Linked DNA regions of Homo sapiens: regions 2, 3, 4 and 5 are each linked to region 1. Evidence: promoter capture Hi-C in 16 types of primary human blood cells and fetal thymus (Javierre and others, 2016). All regions are on one chromosome and are shown on one strand. The core of a region is centred on a gene start or on the middle of the fragment in contact, and the rest is flanking DNA. Distances in the headings are between cores, read along the strand shown.

Region 1 (2,700 bases), core at 153-2,652:
TGAGCTAGTTTTAATAAAATCTAGTAAAAATGTAAGAGCCAGGTTGCTAATTACACCTCCGGTTCAAGATCAGGGAGGCTATAGATGGCATGTTGGGAATCTGGAAATGGGCAGAAAAATAAGTAATTAGGTATTGGCTAAGAGAGAGAAAATGCTGAAATAAATGGATGGAAGCAGGTGGGGAGTAGATCTGGATGGGGCTTGTAGACCACATTAAGAAGCCTGGACTTTATCCAGAGGGCATGTGGGAGCCACATGGATTCTAAGCCAAGGAGTGACTCTAGTCTCTGGATCTCATATGTACTTGGAGAAATCCTCTGTACTTCTGCGAATTAAAGAGAACAACGCTGCAGCTGAGACCAGTTAGAAACAGTCTATTGAACAAAGATGATGAAAGTTTGAATAATAATGATCATTTTAATCACAGCAGACGAATTAAACCAGGCATTTCCTAAGCCCATTACATACTTAATTTTGTTTATGCAATAGCAACCCTACCAAAGTGGCACTAGTGTTAACATCTCCATTTTACAGGTAAGGTAAAGAAGTTGTGAGGGTAAGTAATTTGCCCAAGATCTCTCAGAACCCAGGTTTCTCTGACTGCAGTGCTCTCTTCATTCCCTTAGACTAAGGCATCAGGAGTGGGGAGGAAAAGGAGGCAGATGTGAAAAACATTTAGGAGGTAAGTAATAGTTATTATATTAGCACTAGATAATGACGATGGTGATGATGATGACAATGATGATGACGGTAAGGGGGATTTCATGCCTTTATACATTCAAGAACAACACCAGATTCGGTGTCGGAGAAGAGATAAAATTAAGGTATTGGCGTTGAGCTAACAGTTTAATACGATATAAAACTTCCCAAAGGGAGGGGTCACAACGCCTCTCCTGTCCATTGCCCCCAATTCACCGCAAAAGTCGCTCCTGCCTGGGCTCCCCGGCAGTGCCACACGCAGGACCTCGGGCGCCGACACCGCCCCGCCCCTGGCCGCGCCCCGCCCCGGCCACTGTCCCTCCTCCGAAGCCGCGCCCCTCCCCGCCCTGCCCCGGCCCCGGCCCCGGCCCCGGCCCCAAAGCCCCGGGCCTGCCATCTCGCCCCGCCCTGCCCCGCCCCGCCGCGGCTCCCCCGACCCCAGGCCTGCATTCTCGCCCCGCCTTGCCCCTCCCCTCCCCTGCCACGCCCCAACCCTTGAACTGCCTTCGCGCCCCGCCTTGCCCTGCCTTGCCCCGCCTTGCCCCGCCCCGCCCCGCCCCGCCATCTCGCCCCGCCCCGCCCCTCACCTCCCTTCCCCTCCCCGCCGCTCTCGTGGCCCCCACCTCCAGGGGCGCCTCTGCGGGCCACGTGGTTCGGCGTCCGCGCGCAAGCGGCTCTTGGCGCCGCGCTTCCGGGTTGGCTGTGGCTGTGGCTGCGGCGGCGGCGCAGGAGCAGAAACCGGTGCGGCGCAGAAGCCCCAGAGGCGGGCGGGGCGGAGCGGAGGGCCAGCGGGCCCCGGCGTGGGTCTCCCGCCAGGCCGCCGGGTGAGTTGGCAGCGACCCGGACCCCACCGGGCGCCCCTGAGCGGTAGGTCTGCCGCGCCGACCCCTCCCCCGCCGTGTGCTCCCCAGTCGGGCCCGCGGGGCCTGGGCGGGGAGGTGGGGGTCTTTCCGCGCCACCTCTCCCTGCTGGGACCACCCGGGGCTGCGGGGGGCTCCGCGCCGCCCCTAGTGTGTCTGGCGGCCCCACGCAGCTTAAGTTATTAGTATTTTATTGCAGCTACCTCACATTCACTTTGCACGTGCACATTTCTTCACTCTTCACATTGGTTCCCACATACGAAATGGCTAATAATCTGGGAGATGGAGGCAGCTTCGTTCTCCCTGAAATAGTTGTGCAACCATAGAAAGTTCGTGCTTGCGGAGGATTTTGGAGATGGTTAATCCCATTCCTTCATTTTATAGAAGGTAGACCCTGAACCGTTCCATGAATACTGGAGAGTCACTCAGCTAGTTAATGTGCGGCAGGAGGCTGAGGGAGAGAATTGCTTGAACCTGGGAGGCGGAGGTTGCAGTGAGCCGAGATTGCGCCACTGCACTCCAGCCTGGGCGATAGAGCGAGACTCCGTCTCAAAAAAAAAAAACCGCGAGCTAAGTTGTTTTGTTTTTGTTTTTTGAGGTGGTGGTCTCGTTCTGTCGCCCAGGCTGGAGTGCAGTGGCACGATCACGGCTCACGGCAACCTCGAACTCCCAGGCTCAGGTGATGCTCCTGCCGCAGCCTCCTGAGTAGCTGGGACCACAGGCGGGCGCCACCACGCCAGGCTAATTTTTGTATTTTTTGTATAGATGAATTCTCTCCATGTTGCCCAGGCTGGTCTCAAGTGATCCGTCGGCCTCGGCCTCCCAAAGTGCTGGGATTACAGGCGTGAGGCCACTGCGCCCGGGCCCAGAGCTAAGTTTGTAGACAGACAAAAATGGTAATGGTAAAATTCAGTTAATGATGTGAAGTGAATAGGAAGTTCATGTGGGCTGGCATTAACCTTTTAGACAGTGCTTTCTCCTTTTTAAACCTTGTTTTCTTATTTCAGATTTAACCCTTAGTGGCTTCTGAAGAAAATGGCAGAAACATCGCCAGAGCCTTCTGGGCAGCTTGTTGTACACTCAGACGCTCACAGTGACACTGTGCTGGCCAGTTTTGAGGATCAGAGGAAGAAAGGCTTCC
Region 2 (2,700 bases), core at 70-2,569, 920 kb after region 1:
CCAAACACCCCCACACCTCTCACTCCAGCCACAGCGCCCGCACCAGACCCCCACTACGGTAAACTCTACTCCAAAGTTGGCTGCGGACCTACCTCCTCGGTGCTGTCCGGAGAATCCAGCAAATGTACTCCTGTCCGTTCGCCCTTCCCTCGCCGGCGTCCCCTGCCCCCTCTCCTCACCTGGCCATGCCCCAAGCTTCTGGGGAGCCTCATTCACCCCTCCGAGACCGTCCCCAGGTGCCCCGACTCCGGGGATCAAAGATAACCCCCAAAGCCTCGCAGCGGAGGCTCCCCCTGCCAACCCCTTGCCCTGGAGCCCGCAAGCGCACTCCGACGAATCCGAGACGCGTCTCGCGCTGCGCAGGAGGCCCGGCGGGTCCTGCTGCCAGCCCGGGGTGGGTACGCACCTTCCAGCCGGCAGAGCTGTTGCTGTCGCCCTTATCCTTGAAGTAGGGCACGCAACGCACCATCCACTCGTAGATCTGGGACAGAGTGAGCCGTTTGTCCGGGGAGCTCTCGATGGCGCGGGTGATCAGGTCCGCGTAGGACAGGTTTCCCCAGGCGTTCCGCCGCGACGAACATTTCCTCGGCTGCCCGGAGCCCCCAGCCGCCCCCGGCTGCGGCGGTGGCAGCGGTTGCTGAGGCTGCAGCAGCGCCTGTGTACCCCCGCTCAGCCCGCCCGCCGCGGTGGCTGGCCCAGACCCGGGGTCTTGCCCTCCGGGTGCCAGCACCCGGGCCGAGTCCTCAAGGAGCAGCCCGGAGCCCAGCGTGCCGCTCCCGCCGCCGCCGCCGATCGCCATGGCCGAGCCGGCCCGTCCCCCGCCGTCCTCGTCGTCTTCATCGTCCTCCTCCTCGGGGATCATGGAGTCGGCGGCCGTCTCCCCCGAGGGCTTGGCAGGGCTCGCTTGGAGCTCCGGCCTTTGCAGGGGCCACGTACAGGATCGCGGACGGCTCTGGGGCTCGAACTCCGGGTCCAGCTCCACTTCGAGCGGAGAGAGCGGGGCCGGGGAAGCCGGTGCCTCTGCCATCTTCGCCGCCCGCCCGCCCGCGGCTGGGGCTCTCGCGCTCTCCTCTCGCGCCGGGGCGGGGTGCAGCGGGGGAGGGACGTGGACGCCGCGAAGGCTCCGGCTCCCGGGCGCCGCCGCCGCCGCCTGGGGAAGCACCAAAGAAGAGAGAAGGAGAGTTGGTTATCCCGGGCCGGAGCCCCGTCCTCGGCGAGTCCTCGCCCGCTGCCGCCACCTCCCAGTCCTGCCGCGCCCGCCTCCCAGGAACAGGAGGACCTGAAGACGTGCGGCCAGCGAACCTGGCGCAGCAGACACCGCCCCCCGGCCAGGCCGCGATGGAGCCGCGAGCGAATCGACGGCCTCGCGCGGGGCAGCCCCCTCCCCCCGCCGCCCAGCCGCAGGTCCCTCCCGGGCTAGGCGGCGGGGCGGGGAGAAGGGGGAGGGGCGCCCGGGGGAGGGGCGGCCGCGCCTTTAAAGCGGGCAGCGGCCGGAGCTGGCGCAGCCGAGCCGCGGTCAGAGCCCGAGCTCGGGTGTGCGTGCGTTTGTTTATGTTTCGCTCGGGCCCGCTCTAGTGCCTCCCGCGGCGCCGCCGCTCAAGTCTGTGCTGTCTTCGGCTCTTCTCCCCTTTCCTAGCCTGGCCGCCTCCGCGACCCCCCGTCACCCCCCACCCGGTCGAATGGCCCGAGCCCGGGGACTGCGCGGGCAGCTCCCTCTCCCCTCTTCGCCCGCGGGCCAGAGGGCGAACGGGGGTCTGGGCGCAGATGGGCCCTTGTCACTTCCAAAAAATAAAGGAAAGACAGAAAGAAGGGGGAGCAGCAGCCCAGCGGGTGTTCGCAGAGGTTCGAGCCCGGCGGGGACGGCCACTTCGGGGTTTTGTGTGGTTTGCATTCTCGCGGACGTCGTCCCCTCCGCCCCCTTCCCAGTCGGGATCCGGGGGAGGGAGCGAGTCGGAACATAAATCTTCCAACAGGTCGGGAAGCGCCAAGTCTCCCGGGCTGCTAGAAAACCCGGACCAGCACGTTCATCACCTCCTTGCTCCCGCTGCTGCCATCTTGACAGTTTCCCCCTTCCCGAGTCCTTTAAAAACACTAGCGGGCGAGAAGGGGGGCGCGCACACCGCGGCTCAGGGAGGGGAAAGGGAAGCGCCCGGCCCAGCTCGGAAGCAGATCCGGAGTCACCGGGAAGGCGGCCGCCCGCTGCACGGCTCCGGCGCCTACCTCGCTTCCTTCCCTTCAGGGACGCGGCGGGACGACGCACGATCCCGCGCGGGCCCGGGGCACGGCGAGGAGGGGGCGCGCAACCTCGGCGAAGGAGAAGCGCTCGGGCCGTCGCCGCAGCCCGCCCGAGGAACCGCCTGTCAGCTCGCGCGCCGCCACCTTCCACATTCCTCCTCCTCCCTTCCACGAGCAGGGCGGCCGCGGCAGCAGCACAAAGTTATAGACACACGCAGGGCGCCTCAACCTAGGCTGACGGCGGGCGGGTCCCCGCCCAGGGGGAGGGCTGGGCGGCGGGCTGGGCGGCGGGCCGGGCGCGCGGCGGGCGTGCGTGTGTGAGTGCGCGTGTGTGAGCTCGCGCGCGCCTGCGCGGCCCGGCTCCGCGGGGCTGCGGGCGTGGGTGTCCGGGCGCGCGCCGTGGGCCGGGACTCGGCGGGCTCCCGCTGCTGTCCCCGCTGGGCTCCTCCTCCCTCCCGAGAGTCT
Region 3 (2,700 bases), core at 106-2,605, 730 kb before region 1:
TAAATCTCTATCTATAATAACAAGTCAACAGATAAAATCTAAAATAAAAAATAGTAGAATAAGTTTATTCATCTTAGATATCACCTGTTTATTTCTATTACTATAAACATGGATTTACTGGATGTAAGTAACAGCTAGAATATAAGCTTCATGAGGTCATGATTTTCTTGATCTTGTCCACTGCTGTATGCCTGGGACCTAGAACACTCTCTGGCTCATGGAGACAGTGAGATTAGGAGGTGAGGAAGGGAACGGCAGAGCATTTACTTTACAAACTTTATAGTAGTTTTTAAGATATATATAGAGATAAAATTTGTTGAAAATTTTAAATAAATTCATAAATCAATAAAATTTATAATCAATTCTAGTGTCACAGAAGGCTGATTTTGTAGTTACTATCTGAATGTCTAGTATCAGAAGAGTAGCTACCATGGCAGCTTAATAGCAATATCAAGGAAATCTTTATGAAAATTGTTCAATATTGTATTTTAATAAAAAAGCATGAGAGAAAACAAATCAGCAGAAAAGGTAAATAAAAATATCCCAAAGAAAAACAAATAAATTTTATTGTATATTTTCAATCAACTAAAGGCAGAAAAATTTTGATGAGTCATTTGGTTCTCTAAAGAAATCTCAAGTTTATTAATGTAGATATCCTTCATAGAGATACAGCGTATACCTGAATTGACAATTAAAAACATCAAAGCTTACTTCTGAAGGTTTGGCTACATCTTTTTCATCCACATATTTTGCCCATGGTCCCAAAAAACCATCAATATTGGATGCATCATTTTCTTTAAACTTTTTCCTCTTTTCTGTTTTCTTCTGACCAGTTTCAAATACAGTTAAACCTACGTTAACAAAAAAAAAATTAAAAAAAAAACTGAGAGATTACAAAGATGTACATTTTCTAAAGAAATATGAACATATGTTTAATTTTATTTTATATGGTTAAAGAAAGATGATTGTTCAAGTGACCCCAGAGTTATTAAAAAACAATCTACATGAATCTACCATATACGCTGACTCATGCTACAGAAAAAGGGATTCAACCTTCTGGGCAAAGACACTTAAAACTAATTCAATATTCTGCAAATTCTAATACTGTATACTTAAAGAAGAGACCCAAATATGTACTCCTACAATGGCGCACAAGCCTTTTATTGAATCAAAAAGCTGTGTCAGTGGATTTGTACGACTTTCTGGAAAAAACTCAGAAACTCATTATTGCTAAGTAATAATAAAGTGACATTTGGAAGCAAGAATAAACTGTAATTTATCATTTTAAAACTAAATTAAACTAAATTACTGTAAGTACTTAATAACTTATCTTCACTTCACTTGTAATGCAAAAATGTAAATCAAACAAGGTTTCACCAGAAATGGTATTCCTTCCAAGTGATTTCAGTCTCATCTTGACCTCTAATATCATTAACGTTAACAGTAAAAGAAAAGGAGAAGGAGGGTGTTTCTGGTTGAGATTTTGATTTGATTAGTAGGAGGTGGCATACTGTGTATAGTCATTAACTTGGAAAAAGAAAGGTTTGTGGAATCATAGTCACAAGTTAACTAAGAATCTAGCTACCTTTAGATGGGACTTGCAGAGGTCTAGCTTAAAGAAGAAATGTCTACCTATATTAATTCAGGCTATGTTTTATAGCAAAAGCCTGTTAAAATTCTATTTTAACAATAATCTAGCTCATATACAGAGACCAGCCAGATCACATAGGATCTATAGCTACTAAGCACAAATGTCCCATGCAACCAACCAGCAAATTACTTTTTAAATTGCATTTTATGGATAATATTCTAATGGACTGATGAGGCTTGTGACAAGTTAGCGTTTAGCGTATGATGTTTTGTCTTATTGTAAGTACAAAATGAATATGAATACAAGCATACATACAACACATATTCAAACTCAACCTTCAAAGCAACTCTTCAAAGACAATCTTCACAGACTTACCAAATAAAGTATTTCTACTCTGTTAAAATGAAGCTTGACATTAATGTTGAGAAATCAATTGCCAAAATTATCTATACATTAGTTGTAATTTATTGAGTGATTTCTACAGGGTTGGCATGGTGCCAAGTACTCAAAGTAACTCAAAGAGATATGTATCATTATTTTCCCTACAAGATTCCACAACTAGTAAGCGGCAAAAGCAAGCTCTAAACTGTAACATTTCTGAACTATATTGCTCTAAACTGTATCGCTCCATTGTTTCAACTTTAAAAAAAAAAGCGCTAAATACTATTTTTTACTGTCTAATTAAAGTCACTCTGCAAGACACTAATTATAGATGTGTAGGTATATATGATATCAAATGTTTCAAATAAATTACCTTGATTTTTTTCAGCTTCTTCTACAGAACCAATATATTTAGCAGACACTTGATGATTATCTAATGAAGGGTCTAATGCATAACCTGAAAGCAAAAAAGTGAAAATTATTAACTCCATTTTGCTGTTTAAATTCATTTTATTATTATAATACAAATATACACATTTCACATTTTCTTTCCCAGATGTCAAAAATGATCTCTAACTCAGGACCAATCAGGACCAATCATTCTGCCCTGAGCTATATTGCTTCCTTTTTTTTTTTTTTTTTTTTTTTGAGATAGGGTCTCACCCTGTCACCCAGGCTGGAGTGCAGTGGTGTAATCTCGGCTCACTGCAACCTCCGCCTTCCAGGCT
Region 4 (2,700 bases), core at 56-2,555, 910 kb before region 1:
TACTTGCCCTGTACTTTCCTCGCCCCTCCTCTGATTAGGCCTCTCTGTAACTTTCTCTGGGGGAGTCCTCTAATGCCCATCTTTTTCTTCTCCTGTATCTTGTGTTCTCCTGCTCGGCCTGACTCACAGCAATGCCTGTGAAAGAAACTGGCTTCCTCAGCACCATCATTAGCCCCATTAGCCAGCCATGTCTGCCCTGGAGCTCACCAGGAGCTCGTCTTTTCCCCTGTCCCCGCTGCCAGCCACAGGCTGTCCGCATCACAGCCCCCACCTCCCTGTTTAGTGCTACCTGAGATTCCTTTCTCGCCATGGCTTCAGCTTCAGTGGAGTATGGGAATTGCCTCTGATTCCAAGAGCAGAGAGGGGATGAGGGGACTCTGCTCCTGGGAGGCCAAGTGTGTGTGTGTGTGTGTGTGTGTGTGTGTGTGTGTGTGTGTGTACGCATTTAAGATTTGCTTAGTGGACCCTTATTTTCCTCAGGGGCACAGCCAACTCAATTTACCTCCTTGCTGAAACTCCCAGTGAGGTGAAGGAAAGGCGCTGAGGATGACCATCCTCCTTGTTTGTGGGTCAGGTTGATGCAGTCCAGCAGAGGGCTAACTTAAGCTTGGGGAAATGGACACTCTCATGTTTTAGGGTGATGACCAGAGGATGCTGGGGCTATTTCGTGAGCCCTGCTTCTTGAGTGCCCCTAACCCTATTTCCTCATGGGAGGTTGGGACAATGGTATTCTCTCTCTCCAGGATGAGGTCTTGCTCAGTTGCAAGAAGCCCCAAGAGGAAAGTCATCATGCTTCTTGTACCTCCAACCATGTCACCCCAAACTTCCAGAATAACTACCTCATATGGTCATAAAAGCAGCCTGGTAGGCACTTGGTCACCTAATTTAACATCTGACTTTTGGGTACAGTTTCCTCCTATGCACTGGTGCCATCTTATGCATTACCCATGGGATACATAATAATGACTGGGCATCACTATGTGGTTGCATTACAACAACATAAAGGTGACCAGTCTCCAGGCACATTTAGTGAGTTTTCCTCTGGGATCCAAGGCCTGGGAGCAATCCAGCACAGGAAGCCTGACAAGGCCCAGCCACTAGGATAGCTTAAGAAGTCACCAGGCACAAGTTGGACTTTTATCAGTAGCTTGACCAGCAGGGAACCCTTGAAATGGAAAAGAAAAGACATTTGCACTTATTGAATTCTTGCATAATCATCATAAAAACCCTATAAGTTAGGCATTCTTATCCCTAGGAAACAATTTCAGTGAGTTTTAAAAATCTGCTGATATCCCAAGGCTGGCAGATTCTCTTATTCCCCCAAATTATGAAAATAATTCTGAGTTTTAATTAATTAGGATATCTAGAGCACAGAACATAATGTTCAAATATTAACACATGGAATCTACAATGTAAGAATTTAAAAAACCCACAAAATCAAAATAATATTCAAATAATGATCAGTTAAAACTTTTCAAAATTGAAATATCATCCTTAATGAAACATAAGTGATATACAGGTATGGAGGATAAGAATACACATAGATAATGCACTGGGTCTTGTATTTTACAGTAGCATGAAAAACCCCTAAGCACTTTTTTAAAAATAAAAGGTCTTTATTGAGCAGCTATAGTGTGTTAGACACAGTGTTATGCTTTTTCCAGATGTGTCTCATTTCATTTTCACAACGAGCCTAGAGAGTCAGTATTACTACCCCCATATTATGGATATAAGATTAAAGTTTAGAGAAGTGGAATAACTTGGCCGAGGTCATATGAATGGTAAAGGGTAGAGGCCTCCTAAGCTCTTTTTAAAGTTCTTTTCTTCGTGTTCACTTTTTGGAAGATTATAAACACACAGAAACATGCTGCTCAGTATTACTACAAAACTCCAATTTACTTTTCTTTCTATGCCAATGTTAAGGGGAAAAACAACCTTTACAGTTATTTTACCTTTAAAAACATTTATCTATTATTACATGTTTAAGAACATAATTTAAGCTTCTAAATTGGTTATTCTTACTGAGAGAGCCAAAAACAATCTGTCCCCATAAAATTTGCTATATTTAGTACTTTTTATCTATGAACAGTTTTACTTATAAAACAAACAAACAAACAAACAAACAAACAAAACAGTAGCTCCAGCTTCATTCTCTCTCTTTTAACTACTTTTAATTACATCAAAAAGTAATCCATTGGCTTTATTGGTTCTCTGTGGCCCCAAAGTGTAGATGCTTGCCAGATTCTTTTCTTTGGTTTCCTTGTCTCAGGTAAACAATATACTCCCTTCCTTGGATTTTTAGAATAAAAAGCAACCGAATTTAGGTTCTGTTGTTTGAAGCATTGATGCTGGCAATGCAGCTTGCATTTAATAGGAAGTGCAGTGCAGGTTCATGTGATCTCAGAGCAAGCATAGCCTCTGAGTTCTTCTTGCCTCCTAAGGGTGCTGGGCACAGTACAAGCCCTCAACAAATACTTGTTGAATAATCAGTGAGTCTAATCCAGAGGTTTCAAACTGTTCTTGAAACTGCTCGGTGGACATACTTCAGAGGTCTCTGCAGAGGGAGGGAGTGTGAAGAGACTGAGCAGATGGAGCTCTGCCCAGCAGCTTGACCTTCAGTCAGATGCAGAGAACTGCAAAGATGCTGAGATGACAGCCTGTGGCTTGTACTTGATGGAATAGGAAGCTGAGCTATTGGGG
Region 5 (2,700 bases), core at 89-2,588, 580 kb before region 1:
ACTAGGGTAAGGAGACTTTGTGTGAGCCGCCAGCCACCAACGCTCCATCCCCTCTTGCACCAGCTGAGGAGGGCTTGGGCTGTGCACTATAGCAACAGTACACAACTATAGTATAGAGTCCCCCAACAGGCCAGTGGGAGCCGACAAGCAGGTGCCCTTTCAGCAAAGATCTAGGCTGCAGAAGACTCATTCTTCTGGGACTTCGGTAAGATCCAAGGAAGGGAAAGCTTCCTTCATCACCAAGACTGACTTTTCTCCTAGCCAGGTGGGTGGGGGCCCAGAGTGGTTTATCTAATTTAGTGAAGTAGATGAAAAGAAATTTATGGAGGAAATTTCATACTCAACTCACATATTTAGTATTTAACAAATGCCTGGATTTAGTGGGCACACAATAAAATAATCCATTCCTTTTTTATCCCCTTTTGTCAGGGATATACCTATACCTTTTAACCAGCTGAACCTTTTCTTGTTAAGAAAACAAACTGGAAAGAAAGACATACTTTTTTGTTAGCGTTGCCAATCAATTACAAACATTGATTAACTATTTACTATGATAGGTTGCTAGCAAGATGGTAAAACTAGCTCAAGCTGCTTGCTAATCAATGCTGTAGAAAAACAGAAGCAATGGGGAAATGTACATTTGGGAAAACAAACAAAAACAACAATGAAAGCAACAAACAAAACTCCCCAATAAACAGGAGCCATGGTGGGGCAGGCATTCCCGGGGCTTCATTGTGAGCCTCTCCTCTCGGGTACCCTGCGTGGAAAGCACCACCTCAGCACTGAGGGGAAGCCCCATCACCCAGAGCCCTCTGTCACATCCTCCTGGAGCCTGGCATTTTGCTGTTGAAGTTGCAAAGGCATTTGAAGCTCACCTTAGTGGCCTAGGGCTTCCCACTCCCCTTTGGGAATTTTTGACATGAAAGCAGAAAGCCTAGCACAAAGAAGTGTGTGGTGTGTGTGCGTGTGCGTGTGTAATGAAATTGTATGCCTGGGGCATGAAGATTTTCTTGAACTGCAGTTTGTGGAGGGGTGGCTATATCCCAAGGTGGAGAAACCCCGAAGCAGCAGTGAAGAGACTGCCTGGAGAAAGGCAGTCCTTTGCCACCTCCTCAGTGCAGAGCTCTGTGGCAGCAGCCTGGGCTATTGGTGCAGGTGTCTGCAGGGCAAGTTCATGGCAGCATCAAAGCCCTGCCAAAGGGGAAAAGTGATGAAAACAGCTGTAGACTGAACAACTAACCTCCTACATTCATCCATCACATCCTCTCCACAGCCCAAGTGATGGGGACCATCTCTTTTCTATCTTGCCTTATCCTAAAGGTTTTAAGATGAAACCTTGACCAGAGAAGTTTTCTGGCTACTCTAAGCCAACAGCCCACAGGAATCAGTCGTGATTCCACGGTGCATAGGGCTCTCCACCAAGAGCCTAAGCCATCATTGGGCTTTTCCCAATACACATCACAAAACGGAACAGAGGAAACATTACCAGGTAGGGTAAGTAGAGGAGAGGAGAGAAAAAGAAGTTCAAAAGCCGAAATGACTAGAGCAATACAACTACCAAATGAACAAGCAAACTGCACAACATGTACCATCTGGCAGAAGTATTTGAACAGGTGGACCAAGAATTTAAAATAAGCATTATAAATATGTCTCAAGAAATAAGAAATTACATTAACAAAAATAAAAATCACACAAAAGAACCAAGTAGAAATATTAGGTATGGAAAAGGCAAGCAACGAAATAACTCCATAGATGGGGTAACTAGTAGGATGGATATAGCTAAAAAGCAATTAGTTGGGAGATCAGATTGAAAAACTCTCCCAGAACACAACAGAAAAGGGTAAGAGGAGAAAGAAAATATGTAGTTTTTAAAAACAAGCTGAGATATGGAAGACAGAGAAATGTCTACATCTGCATCAGATACCTAGAAAGAAAAAAAAGGAAAAATGACAACAGGCAATATTTGAAGACATAATGGGGATAAATTTTCTGGAATTAAAGAATTATATCCCACCAATACCTTAATCAAATGTAACGACACAATAAAAATATTCCGAGGCATATACAGCTTCAGAAGTTTTTTCCACAGGAAGATCCATTCTTGAAAACACTTTGAGAAGTCCTTAAATAATAAGAGAAATAAATCCACACGGTGAAGCAAGTTATAGGAAGAAAGGGTAATCACATATCTTGGTAGAGTTTACTATTGTCTTAAAAATTAGAATGGGAGGGAATATATTTATATAGCATCCCAGAACTAAAGTTCTATCAGCATGATGTAGCAAAATGAGAGGAAGCCCAGGGGAACATGAGATTCATAGTAAAGCAAGAAAGATGATCTAGACATTGCTAAGTTTAATGAAACAATAGATATAAACATGAGTATGGAAGGTCAACCACCGTAAGGCAAAAGCAATGTATAATTTTTAGTCTTACAGAAGAAAGCTTGTTCTATTCAATGGAATTTAGGAACAGAGAAAAGAAAAAGCAGAATAAAGCAAGTGGAAAATAAGACAATGGAACAAAATCCTAATTTAGCAGCAAAAGGGTTAAACTCACCAAAGACACTGTCAGATTGGATTAAAAAACAAAATATAATACAACAATATGCTGTCTTAGAAGCACACACTGAGGACAGTAAAACAGAAAATTGAGAATAAAATTATATAGAAAAATATATACCAGGTAATCATGAAGTAA

Evidence for each region. The method cuts DNA at HindIII sites, captures the fragments that hold promoters and counts their contacts. A CHiCAGO score of 5 or more calls a contact.
Region 2: the fragment with the promoter of FOXO3 here is called in contact with the fragment with the promoter of ZBTB24 in region 1 in 11 of 17 cell types (naive CD8 T cells, total B cells, non-activated CD4 T cells and 8 more); the score reaches 15.2 in naive CD8 T cells.
Region 3: a contact is called between a fragment that was not itself captured here and the fragment with the promoter of ZBTB24 in region 1, in 2 of 17 cell types (total B cells and naive B cells). The highest score is 6.9, in total B cells.
Region 4: a fragment that was not itself captured here is called in contact with the fragment with the promoter of ZBTB24 in region 1 in 2 of 17 cell types (megakaryocytes and fetal thymus); the score reaches 5.4 in megakaryocytes.
Region 5: a fragment that was not itself captured here is called in contact with the fragment with the promoter of ZBTB24 in region 1 in 1 of 17 cell types (neutrophils); the score reaches 6.8 in neutrophils.

What each region holds. Positions count from the first base shown.
Region 1 is chr6:109,481,921-109,484,620 of GRCh38, reverse strand. It overlaps ZBTB24 (zinc finger and BTB domain containing 24), which reads left to right and starts at 1,402. Exons shown (of 7, transcript NM_014797.3): 1 at 1,402-1,523; 2 at 2,567-2,700. The coding sequence starts at 2,595. ZBTB24-DT (ZBTB24 divergent transcript) reads right to left here and starts at 977. Exons shown (of 4, transcript NR_187591.1): 1 at 1-977. RefSeq lists silencers at 902-1,341, 1,422-1,711. The HindIII fragment of the contact is 11,956 bases long and covers 1-2,700 here.
Region 2 is chr6:108,559,536-108,562,235 of GRCh38, reverse strand. It overlaps FOXO3 (forkhead box O3), which reads right to left and starts at 1,319. Exons shown (of 3, transcript NM_001455.4): 1 at 407-1,319. The coding sequence starts at 1,027. RefSeq lists an enhancer at 342-842 and silencers at 1,286-1,505, 2,485-2,554, 2,595-2,700. The HindIII fragment of the contact is 5,662 bases long and covers 198-2,700 here.
Region 3 is chr6:110,207,235-110,209,934 of GRCh38, reverse strand. It overlaps CDC40 (cell division cycle 40), which reads right to left. Exons shown (of 15, transcript NM_015891.3): 4 at 2,346-2,429; 5 at 712-851. Among named protein-coding and RNA genes, the nearest start is that of CDC40, 28 kb to the right of the region's middle. The HindIII fragment of the contact is 1,293 bases long and covers 709-2,001 here.
Region 4 is chr6:110,396,123-110,398,822 of GRCh38, reverse strand. All of the region lies in intron 4 of DDO (D-aspartate oxidase), which reads left to right. Among named protein-coding and RNA genes, the nearest start is that of DDO, 18 kb to the left of the region's middle. The HindIII fragment of the contact is 1,394 bases long and covers 609-2,002 here.
Region 5 is chr6:110,059,285-110,061,984 of GRCh38, reverse strand. No RefSeq gene overlaps it. Among named protein-coding and RNA genes, the nearest start is that of GPR6, 82 kb to the right of the region's middle. The HindIII fragment of the contact is 2,218 bases long and covers 230-2,447 here.